Linked DNA regions of Homo sapiens: region 1 is linked to region 2. Evidence: promoter capture Hi-C in 16 types of primary human blood cells and fetal thymus (Javierre and others, 2016). All regions are on one chromosome and are shown on one strand. The core of a region is centred on a gene start or on the middle of the fragment in contact, and the rest is flanking DNA. Distances in the headings are between cores, read along the strand shown.

The links. The method cuts DNA at HindIII sites, captures the fragments that hold promoters and counts their contacts. A CHiCAGO score of 5 or more calls a contact.
Region 1: a contact is called between a fragment that was not itself captured here and the fragment with the promoter of PLA2G12B in region 2, in 1 of 17 cell types (endothelial precursors). The highest score is 5.8, in endothelial precursors.

Annotation. Positions count from the first base shown.
Region 1 is chr10:72,384,547-72,390,340 of GRCh38, forward strand. All of the region lies in intron 10 of MICU1 (mitochondrial calcium uptake 1), which reads right to left. Among named protein-coding and RNA genes, the nearest start is that of DNAJB12, 33 kb to the left of the region's middle. The HindIII fragment of the contact is 1,145 bases long and covers 3,102-4,246 here.
Region 2 is chr10:72,952,526-72,958,115 of GRCh38, forward strand. PLA2G12B (phospholipase A2 group XIIB) reads right to left here and starts at 2,281. Exons shown (of 4, transcript NM_032562.5): 1 at 1,950-2,281. The coding sequence starts at 2,160. The HindIII fragment of the contact is 2,206 bases long and covers 2,034-4,239 here.

The sequences.
Region 1 (5,794 bases), core at 2,424-4,923, 570 kb before region 2:
TGGTAATCATGAATCCCTAAAGCAGCTCTCCTCCTCCTTAGGGCACTTACCTAATTTTACTAAATCATAATATATTCAAAGTGATCATAAGCCAGAATCAATCTTTAGAATTGCTAAGTGACTTTAAATTTGGGAAAATAAACCAGGCCTCTGCAGAGAAAATGCCTCATAAAGCAAACATTTATTTCAGAATTTGAGCTTCCTTGCCTACATCATGAATAATTTTACTTTAAAAATTGATGACTCTGTCTTAAATGAATGGAATCCTGGCCAACACTCCTCTTCACATATAAATGTTTTTACCAAATGTAATGATGAACTGAAGTGCAAGAGCTTGCCTCCCACAAACTTTAAAAGAATTTATAAAATAGGAGCTTTTTTCCTGTTGTAATCTCTTCCTTACATGTCTTTGTGACACTCCTGCCTTCCTGCCATGTCTTGGCTGTCTGGGGGATGCTCTCCCTACATTCTTGCTGTGAATTTGCCCCACTTTCCGGCATCACATAAAAGCATTGAGTCCTCGATGTAATTCTCTAGGTCCTTCTAGCAGCAGTAGGTGCCAGGGTACTAATGAGAACCCTGGTGTGGAAGTCGCTGAACCTGAACTTCTGGTCTGTGATTTCAGCAAGTCATTTCCCTTTATGAATGTTAAAAACAAGCAGGCCGGGCACAGTGGCTCACGTCTATAAATCCAACACTTTGGGAGGCCGAGCTGGGCAGATCACCTGAGGTCAGGAGTTCAAGACCAGCCTGGCCAACATGGTAAAACCCTGTCTCTACTAAAAATATATAAATTAGCTGGGCGTGGTGGTGTGTGCCTGTAATCCCAGCTAACTGGGAGGCTGAGACAGGAGAATCACTAGAACCCAGGAGGCGGAGGTTGTAGTGAGCTGAGATCATGCCACTGCACTCTAGCCTAGGTGACAGAGCAAGACTGTCTCAAAAAAAACCAACCAAACAAACAAAAAACCAAAAAACAAAGTAAGGGTTTAAACAAAATGATTTTTAAGTTATCTTCCAGCCCTAAAATTTAAATCAGTTTAAATGTCCCTATCTTCAGAATAATAAAACCAAAGGTGTAGGTTTCTAAAATGATGGCTGGTGTGCTGAGCAGAATTCTGACGTGCCCCCCGCCCAGTATTTCCACCCTCTGGTCCACATATCCTGTGTAATCCCCTCTCCTCAGGTGGGCAGAACCTGTGACTACGATAATCCTGTGATGAGGTTACTGTATATGAGAAAGGTGATGGGCTAGTCAGTCCCATAACTATGTTATGTAAGAATCCATCTTAGCAGACTGAGGCGAGAGATTCTGTTGCTGGCTCTGAAGAAGTGAGTTGCCATGCTGTGAGGGGCCTGGTGGCAAGGAGCTGTAGTCACCTGCTGAGAGCAATGACTGGCCAACAGCCAGCAAGGAAAAGGAATCCTTGGTCCTACAACTGAAAGGACCTGAATTCTGCCAACAGCAGGAAAGAACTTTGAAGAGGACCCTGAACTCCGGATGAAAATGAAGGCCCCCCAACAACACTGCGATTTCATCCTTGTTAAGATCCTAAGCAGAGAACCCAGCTATGCTGTGCCAACACTCTGAATCACAGAAACTGGCCAGTGGGGAAGGCATTTATGATTGGGAATGTCTTTTTTTTTTGGAGGGGGACGGAGTCTCGCTCTGTCGCCCAGGCTGGAGTACAGTGGCGTGATCTTGGCTCACTACAACCTCTGCCTCCCGGGTTCAAACAATTATCCCACCTTAGCCTTCTGAGTAGCTGGGATTACAGGTGCCCACCACCACACCAGGCTAATTTTTGTATTTTTAGTAGAGACGGGGTTTCCCCATGTTGGCCAGGCTCGTCTTGAACTCCTGACCTCAGGTGATCTGCCTGCTTTAGCCTCCTAAAGTGCTGGGATTACAGGCGTGAGCCACTGTGCCCGGACAAGGGACTATCTTTTTGAAGTTCCTCAACTTCTACGTTATATAGAGCCGCACTCATCCCTCATCCCCCGCCACCTATTTTTTTTTTTTTTTTTTTTGATACAGTGTCTCATTCTGTCACCCCGGCTGGAGTGCAGTAGCATGATCATAGCTCACTGTACCCTCAACCTCCTGGGCTCAAGAGATCCTCCTGCCTCCGCCTCCTAAGTAGTTGGGACTAGAGGTGTGTGCCACCATGCCTGGCTAATTTTAAAGTATTTTTTGTAGAGACAGAGTCCCACTGTGTTGCCTAGGTTGGTCTGGAACTCCTCAGCCTCCCAAAGTGCTGGGATTACAAGGTTGTGCCACTGTCCCTGGCCTGCACTCATTTTTTGACAGAGTGCACTTTACAGAACCATCATTCTGTTTTACCTACTATACCAAACTCCATAAATTAGATCTTACAGGGAAACTAGCCAAGGTCTAATTAAGTTTTACATTTCCTAACAAGGAAATAAATTAAAACTGCCACACTTCTTTTGGGAATTCAAGTCTTGCTCTTACTTCAAATGTACCTGACAATTATAAGTCAGTTCACTTTCATAAAGATTTCACATAAACAAGTTGGGCTAACAGTCCCTGTGAGGCAATAGATTTGGAAATAATTTTAGGCTATGACATGTCACTTAAAACATTACTTCATTCAGTAAAAAGCGGATTTAGTTATAATCATACAATTTCAAATCTGCATGAACCCTTAGAGATACTTATAACTCCAACCTGAGGGTCAGAGTAGTGACCTGCTCAAGGAGTCAAAGGAAATTAATGACATGGGAAGGTGCTACAGTCCTAACACTCTTCCCCTCACCCTACGCTCTTACTAGAGTATTTCATCATCCTTTGCAGGATCTGGAAAGGTCTAGAATTAATTCATTTACATAACATAAACGAACATCTGTTTATATAAAGAGTTGTTCTAGGCTCTGAATAGCACACAAAGTTGTAGAAAACATGGTTCAAGTCTTTGAGAATTTACAGTCTAATGAATTCCCCCTTGAATGCTGAAGATATGAGACATATCAATAGGGGTTAGATATTCCTAGGAACAGAGAACTTTTTTAATAAAGGCTTCTGAAGGCAGAGACACCAATAATTTTTGGATGAATGATGAAACTTAGGAGAACCTAGAAGCTTCAATCCTCATTAATGAGTATAAACAACTTAGAACTTCTAAGCTAATAAAAATGTCAAAAGTGACTAAAAAAAAGCAGTAGATTCCACTTCCTCAGAGAACAAAGAGCCTTATCTGGTGCTTTTTTTTTTTTAAGGATGATTTAAAAAAAAAAACACTTTTTATGATGTTGCCATGTTGGTATAGGTTGTTTCCAGCCCCCTAATAAGATAAACAGGCAGAAGAAAGCCAGCACCTATGGGTTGAAAACCAGAACAGGCAGTTTGGTACAATTTTAATGTCAACCTAGTATATTAATATAGTATTATCTCTTTTTATTTTCACAATAACCCTGAAACAAGTATTCTACTATCACCATTCTACAGATCTGGAAACTGAGGCTTTGAGAACTTAAGGAATTTGTTCAAGGTCACAAAACTAGTGAATAGCGGGGACTCAAACTCAGGTTTGAACTTAAAACCAAAATTTATATTCAGCACAATTTCTTGCATATAGTTAACGCTCAATAAATGCTAGATGTTAGAACAGTATCTAAAAGTGCAACAGAGCACTGGTATACCAATGAGCGGAGGTGGTGAGGAACACCTTGGTCATTGGAAGGTGTATCTATATCCTGTATTTTGATGTTGAGAAAAGCGCAGCTTAGCATACATGCCTTTTTCTGGTCTGTGGTATCCCTTAAAAGGATATCAACTTTCTTGCTACATGACTTTATTTAAATAACTTCAGGCTTTTGTGTATTGGTTTCCTCAGTGAAAAGTAATATGGTTCCAAAGGTAAAGATCACAGATGTGTCTACTAAGGCGTTCCTATGCAGGACAAGAAGCTAGATTAGACAACTCCAAGAGTCTGTTATTGTAAGGTAAGGACTATGGATGTCTGTGTCTGAGCTGTAGAACCTATACCTGAACAGAACAGACAATTGTAGGGGAAAAAAAGGTCACATTTCATATTCAAGAGAAGGGCACTATCTCTAAAACATCATAGTTTATCAAAAGGACTTCATTCTCACCCTAAGAATGGTCAACTCTTAGCCAAAAGCAACTGGGAAAAAAAAGTCCAGAGTCTGTCTTCCCAATGCTACTGTGAAGCATGGTTTGAAATGGTAAAGCCACAGTCCCCTCTGGATTGTGCTTCAGCAAAGCTTTTCAGACTCTAACAGAATTGTGGAGTATACTGAGAGGCAACACGACGATGTGGAAAGAACACAGACTGGGAATTAGAGAGACCTGAGCTTGAATCCTGGCTTTTCCACCACTAAGCTGGATAACCACGATCAAGTGGCTTCATTTGATATTTTCCTCATCCATAAAGTGAAGATGAATGAGGATAATTCAGGTTTTAAAGATTAAAAGCGATAACATGCATAAAGCACTAAGCATTGTGCCTGGCACAGAGAAACTACTATGAAATGAGAGTTGCTGTTAGTGTTCCAGATGTGTGATGGCCTCACAGTCCTGGACAGGACAGTGCTACCGGATTATTACAGTTCAGGAGTGGGTGGCAGCTTGTCTGTTAAAGACAGTTGTTCAGAATATAAGAGTTTGTTGTGTGCTAGAAATTGCTGACTCCATCAGTAATTTCTGACTTCCCCAACAATCCAGTTAGAGCCTAAATGACAAAAGACTTGAGGCTCCCTTACTCATTCCAATTATTAGACTCAAAGAATTTGAAAGCTGCAAAGGTTCTCAGAGGTCATCTCTGCCATCCTTGTCCCTCCAGAGACAAAAGAAACTGAGACCATTTGAAGATGTGACTAAAACTTCAGAAAAAATACTTGGGGTTGCAGAAAGCTCCTGTAGGAGTTATGCCATAGATTTTATTATTTGTTCTTTTGGCTTGTCAGATAATAAGGTAAACTGCACGTATAGAATAACTACAAAGAATCAAGGCCAACTATGCCATAAATTATAATTTTCAGTGTAAGTAGAATTGTGCAGGGGCGTGAATAGTAAAGACCAGGGACTATATTTGTGTGATTATTTTCTGATTTTATAGTTCAAAGTACACCGAGGACGTAACTGAACCCACAGGTTTACTGCATCTGTACTATCCTGAGGTGCTTTACAGTGGAGCTTTATTGTACCTGGATATTCTCCTGGCAGAAATTGGAATATTCTGAGTTATATGGGCTGAAGCTCACTCTAGAGCTCCAGCTCAAATAATTTCTAACTTTTTCATCATAGAAAGCCATTGGGAAAGGAGTCATGTTCAATTTTCCATTACCTTCTTCAGCAGACCACTTAAATCAATCAGCCAGCCGCTGAGAGGTCATAGATCTAATTTTATGCCCAGTGTGCGTACGAATGAGCAATAGAACCAGTTCTTCTTAAGTGCTAAACGAAGAGACGCCTGATAGTGGAGACACACAGTATTTCATGGAGAAAGGTTCTTTCTTCAGATGGTTAGAACTCTTGAAAACACTTCATTATTACCTGATGGTTGTTACTCTCACATGGGTCATGCAGAACTAAAGAAATAGCCTTAATTAAATTTGATGTTTTTTTCAAATGGTAGGAGGGGCAAACAGAAAAAATGAAAAAAAGAAAAAGAAAAAAAAGAAATGTGACATTTTTTACTCTGGAGGAACTGGACTATGTTCTAATACAGTAAATCTGCAGTGGCCACCTGCCTGGATCTTTCAAATTATTCCAAGGAACATTAACTCTGTAAGTTATTAAAAGATGGTC
Region 2 (5,590 bases), core at 1,031-3,530:
AGACGAGCACGGTGCATGAGAGATGTGTCACAAAGCAAACTACAAAAGAGCAGACTCGTTGTTAGGTGTTGTCTGTTCAAAAGATTGCTCGATTCACAATCAGTTTGAGAAGGTATTTTGTACTCTTTTGGGCACAGCCGCCAGGTTTTTGGCTCTACTGGGTTCCAAGGTAAGGAGGCATAACCGCCTATTTTTCTAAGTGTTTTTCAGGCCCCTCTTTGAGCAGGTTGTTTTACACAAAGTGAGAAGAGTTATTTGCCTTTCTCTTCTATTTACTCTTCCCATCCCCCACCAGTTGCTGCTGGCTTCCACCCTGCCCAGCCAGAGGCTCCGCAACTAAAATTTGCTTAAGTCTTTTAATGCTGTTTTGCTAGAGAAGGAAGAATAGGATTTGGTTCTTGATTTCCTAATAAAAATTCCTGCTGTTGCCTATTTGCTGAACTACAGATACTAGTCCTGTGTTGCCTTTAGGAAGGAAAACACCTGTGTTGATTCCAATGTCTGAAGTGAGTCAACCCCTTCCCTGTCCCATCCGTGCAAACAGTGTGAGCATAATCCAGTGGCAAGGCCTCTGCGTTGGTCCAACTGCCTTGGACAAATACATGGTTTTAGGGCCAGGTGGGTCCTAACAGACCAGGCATTTTTCTCTGTGAAACTTTCACAAAGAAGCTGCAGCATAGATGGTTAAAACATAGATGGTTAAAACATAGATTTTAACCATAGATTGTTAAAACATCTATGCTGCAAAACTTTGGGTCCTGATGCAATGATTAACCATTACCTCCTAGTCACTCTTAGTGTATAAGGAAGCGATTTTCCCCACTCAAAAAGGAATAGAGAGACTTAAGGGTGAGTCCGGGAAGTATGTAGTTTTTTTGTGCATCTCTTCAAAGCTGACTTTTTCTCTGTTGAGTATTTGGAGAAAATATTTCTCAAATGTGTTTTCCTGTTAGGCTAAATTGACTCACCATTTTCATTTCTAATCCCTTGATGAGATAGTTGATAAATTAAACCATAAAACTAATGCTACCTGAGACCTGAGACTGTGCATGCTTTGGAAAACGTTTTCATGCGCATTGGCAATTACACGATGCCACCCAGCTTCAAGGCCTGGGGCTCCACATTTTGCTCCCCTTACATTAACTTCCAGGGCCCCTGGGACCAGGGGCTCTGTGCCGGCAGCCAGGTGTGCACCTTATATCTGTGTACCCCCAGCCATATTCAGGCAAGGTAGGGGAAGTGCTCCTGCCAGCTCACAAATCTGCATCTGGCGCCAAGTCCAGGGGACAGCCCCGGGATCCCTGGTGAGCCACGAACCCTTCCTCTCCACAGCATGCCTGTCGTTGCCGAGGCTGCAGGCAGGGACAGCTCCCTTGAGAAAGTCCAGCAAATTGATGCCAGTCAGGGACTGAGAGCTGGGAGGACGGTGTGAACTGCAGCAGGGGGAAGGGAGAATTTGTTTCCAAGCTGAGCACAGAGCAGCTGAGGAGGTGGTTTTGCCCCATGGCAGATTTTTCTCTGAATGTTCGGCTTCAGTTTTCATCCCTGGGAACTCCTCACAGAGGCCTCTCATACCCACCCTCCTTCTTCCCACCCCAGGTACCCTTTTTTCCTAAGAACTGCCTCACAACAAACTCATTAAAATGGCCCAGGGAAGGTTTCCCAGATACAATACAGGAAGCTCAGTGAAATGTGAGTTTGAGATAAACAACGAAGAATTTGTCAGGATAAGTATGTCCCAGATATTTCACTGGACATACTTATACTAATGACTTATTTGTTGTTTATTTGGATTTCACATTTCACTGGGTGTCCTACATTTTTATCTGCTAAATCTGGCAGCTCTAAGTGGATAACAGGAAAAAGTGCAAGACAGATCGTGACCTCTCTGGGGCTGTCCATGGGTCCACCAGCAACAGTTTTTACAGAAAGAGAAACCGCACACTCACCATATCGGCACCTGTACTGACAGACTCCATTCTTCCCTCCCAGCAGCTCCAGAAAAGAATCGAAGTAGCTATTGACGGATTCAAAGCTTCCCCGGAGGTGCCGAAGGCCCCAGTCTGAATAGGACTCCTCCGTGTCAGGGCTCGTGTCGCTCTGAGCCAGGCCACCCCCAAGGCTGAGCCACAAAACCAAGAAGCCACTGGCCAGCTTCATCCTGCAGCCAGGTAGGTACTGGCTTCTCTCCTCAAACCCCAGCCAGTGTCCCAGAATTCCAGGGACAAACCCCCTACCCAGATGTCAGGCAGGACTGGGAAAGGGATTATCTGGAACATTCAATCTGTCTGTTCCCCAGAGGTGGACTTTAAACATAGCTATGGAGGTTGGGATGAGATCAGGGCAATTAGAAAGAGGGCAAAGGTTAGGGAGTGGGAGGGCCAGGGAGAGAGAACATTTCAAAGTGGATTCTACCACCCTGGAGGGAGGGAGATGTTAGCCAGCTTCTGAGACGCAGGAACGGTGAAGGATTCGGAGTTCTACCCCGACCAGCTTGTTAAGCTGTTGATCAGTTACAAGTGTGGCTCTTCAGGGCCAGCCTCTTGATAGAAGAGCTTGACCGAAGGTCCTAGCCACACCCCTCAGCCAGCTACCTACATAGTCTCCAAGGAGAGTCAGGAGGATGTGTACAGGGCCCAGGAAAGCCCCAGCGGTAGGAATTAATAGTCACTTTACCAAGGGTCACGATAGTGTCAGAGTAGGTACCAAGTGTGTGTTAAGCAGAAGTTCAGATTTGAGACCCCAGCTTCTGCTGTGGAACCCACCTGGCTCTGACGCATAAATCCTCTAATTTGGCAGAGCTCCCAGATGTAGCCATCTGAGTGCAGGGACATTTTGGCTTCTATTTACAGCAGTATCTCTGTTTACACTCAGCATAAGTGGATCATAAGACAAGATCTACAGATGGTCCAAGGACAATTCTGGGGGCACTCGGCTCTCCTGGTGGTGTTTTTCCTTTGAGTTTCTTAGAAGTCAGAGGGTTTATCAAATAGTCTATTTGGGAGTGTAGGCTTTTAAGACTGTTGACTGAAGTCTAGTGTTTTGGCATCGTTTTCAGTTTAGACTGCTTTTAGTCGTGTGAAGAAATGCCATCTATAAAATCACTAGTCTAGGACCGGGCATGGTGGTGCATGCCTGTAATCCCAGCATTTTGGGAGGCCGAGGCGTTTGGATCACCTGAGGTCAGGAGTTTGAGGCCAGCCTGACCAACATAGCGAAACCCCGTCTCCACTAAAAATACAAAAATTAGCCAGGCAAGGTAGCAGCCGCCTGTAATCCCAGCTACTAGGAAGGCTAAGGCAGGAGAATCACTTGAACCCAGGAGGCGGAGGTTGCAGTGAGCCGAGAGCACGCCATTGCACTCCAGCATGGGCGACAAGAGCGAAACTCTGTCTCAAAAAAATAGTAATAATAAAATAATCACCAGTCTATAAAAATGATACCTTTATGGACCACATGAATCATTTAGCTCCTTTCTCAAATGTTTGTCTGGAAAGCCCCATGGAAAATAATGAATTAAATGAATTAATTTCTTCATTTTCAGTAAATGTGTTTGGCTGAAGACTCAGACTCCAGGAAGGGCAGTGGTTAAAAATTATTCATAGTCACAACAATGCCACCCAATATTTTAAAGCATCTATACTTTTTCAAACCACTTTCATGCATATGCACATACACAGAGGCACACACATACACATGCACATATGCACAAATGTTCATGCCAGTTTCATGAAGCAGATTAAATAGTCCCATTTGGGGGTGAGAAAACTGATGCAGAGGGTAAGTGACTTGATCAAAGCTGGACAGGCTATCAATGGGAAAGCTGGCACCAGGGCCAGCTACATAATTTGTAGGGCTTCACCAAAACAAAACTGCAAATGCAGAGCTCCTTTTCCAAAAGCAGGGGAACTTGCCATTAAAATACTAACTATAGGCTGGGCGCGGTGGCTCACACCTGTAATCCCAGGACTTTGGGGGGCCGAGGCAGGTGGATTGCCTGAGGTCAGGGGTTCAAGACCAGTCTGGCCAATATGGTGAAACCCCGTCTCTACTAAAAATACAAAAAGATTAGCCCGGCGTGGTGGCGTGCACCTATAATCCCAGCTACTCAGGAGGCTGAGGCAGGAGAATTGCTTGAACCAGGGAAGTGGAGGTTGCAGTGAGCCAAGATCGTGCCACTGCACTCCAGCCTGGGTGACAGAGTGAGACTCTGCCTCAAAAAAAAAAAGCTAACTATAAAGCTTTTTCCTTTAAAAAATGTTTTATTATTTGTAAAATATAATAAGGTTAATAGAGATACATGAGTATCAATATATACATAAATTTTTTAAAAATTGGTGTCATAATTTTATATAATACTATATATTACTTTATAAGTATGCAATATTTTGATCATAGGATTTTTCTGACTTTTCTGAAAATTCATTGATTAGGTCATCAAAGTTTATACTTCTAACAACCTAATTTTCAATCAGTGTAACTGAAAGTGATGTCAGTTGCTCTTGGCAATTGTAAGATGGCAAGAAATATTTGATACTTTTTTGTTTTGAGAAGGATCTTTTTGCTGATGCAACTGTTACTAGAGCTGTTAATAGTATTGTCCCCCCATTTCTTGAAACTTTATACATGTTTAAATTGTGGTAAAATATACATAACATATTTACCATTTTAACCATTTTTAAGTGTGCAATGCAGTGGCATTAAGAACATTCATACATTGTTGTGCAACCATCACCACTATCCATCTCCAGAACTTTTTCATCATCCCAAACCGAGACTCTGTTCCCATTAAGTGATAAGTCCCCATTCCCCTTTTCCCCAGCCCCTGGCAGCCACTATTCTACTTTCTGTTCTTAGGAATTTGCCTATTCTAGGTACCCCATATAAATGGAATAATATAATATGTGTCCTTTTGTGTCCAGCTGATTTCACTTAGTATAATTTTAAGTTCATCCATGTGGTATGTATCAATACTTCACTGAGAATACTGCTGCTATGAATACTGGTGTACACATACCCATTCAAGTCCCTGCTTTCGATTCTTTTGGGTATTATATACCTAGAAGTGGGTTTGCTGGATGGTAATTCTATGTTTAACTTTTGAAGAACCATTATACTGCTTTCCATAGTGGCTGTACCATTTTACATTCCTGCCAGCAATGGACAAGATTTCTAATTTCTCCACATCCTTGTCAACACTTGTTGTTTTCCTTTTTTTTTTTTGACAATAGTCATCCTAATGAATGTGAGGTAGTATCTCATGCATCTCCCTCATAATTAGTGATGTTGAGCATCTTTTCATGTGCTTATTGGCTATTTGTATATTTTCTTTGGAGAAACATCTATTTAAGAAGACCTTTGTCCATTTTTCAATTGGGTTTTTTGTTATTGTTGAGTGTCAGAAGTTCTTTATATACTCTGGATATTAATCTCTTATCAGGGCCGGGCATGGTGGCTCATGCCTGTAATCCCAGCACTTTGGGAGGCTGAGGTGGGTGGATTGCTTGAGCTCAGGAGTTCAAGACCAGCCTAGGCAACATGGCAAAACCCCACCACTACAAAAAAATACAAAAATCAGCCAGATGGAGTG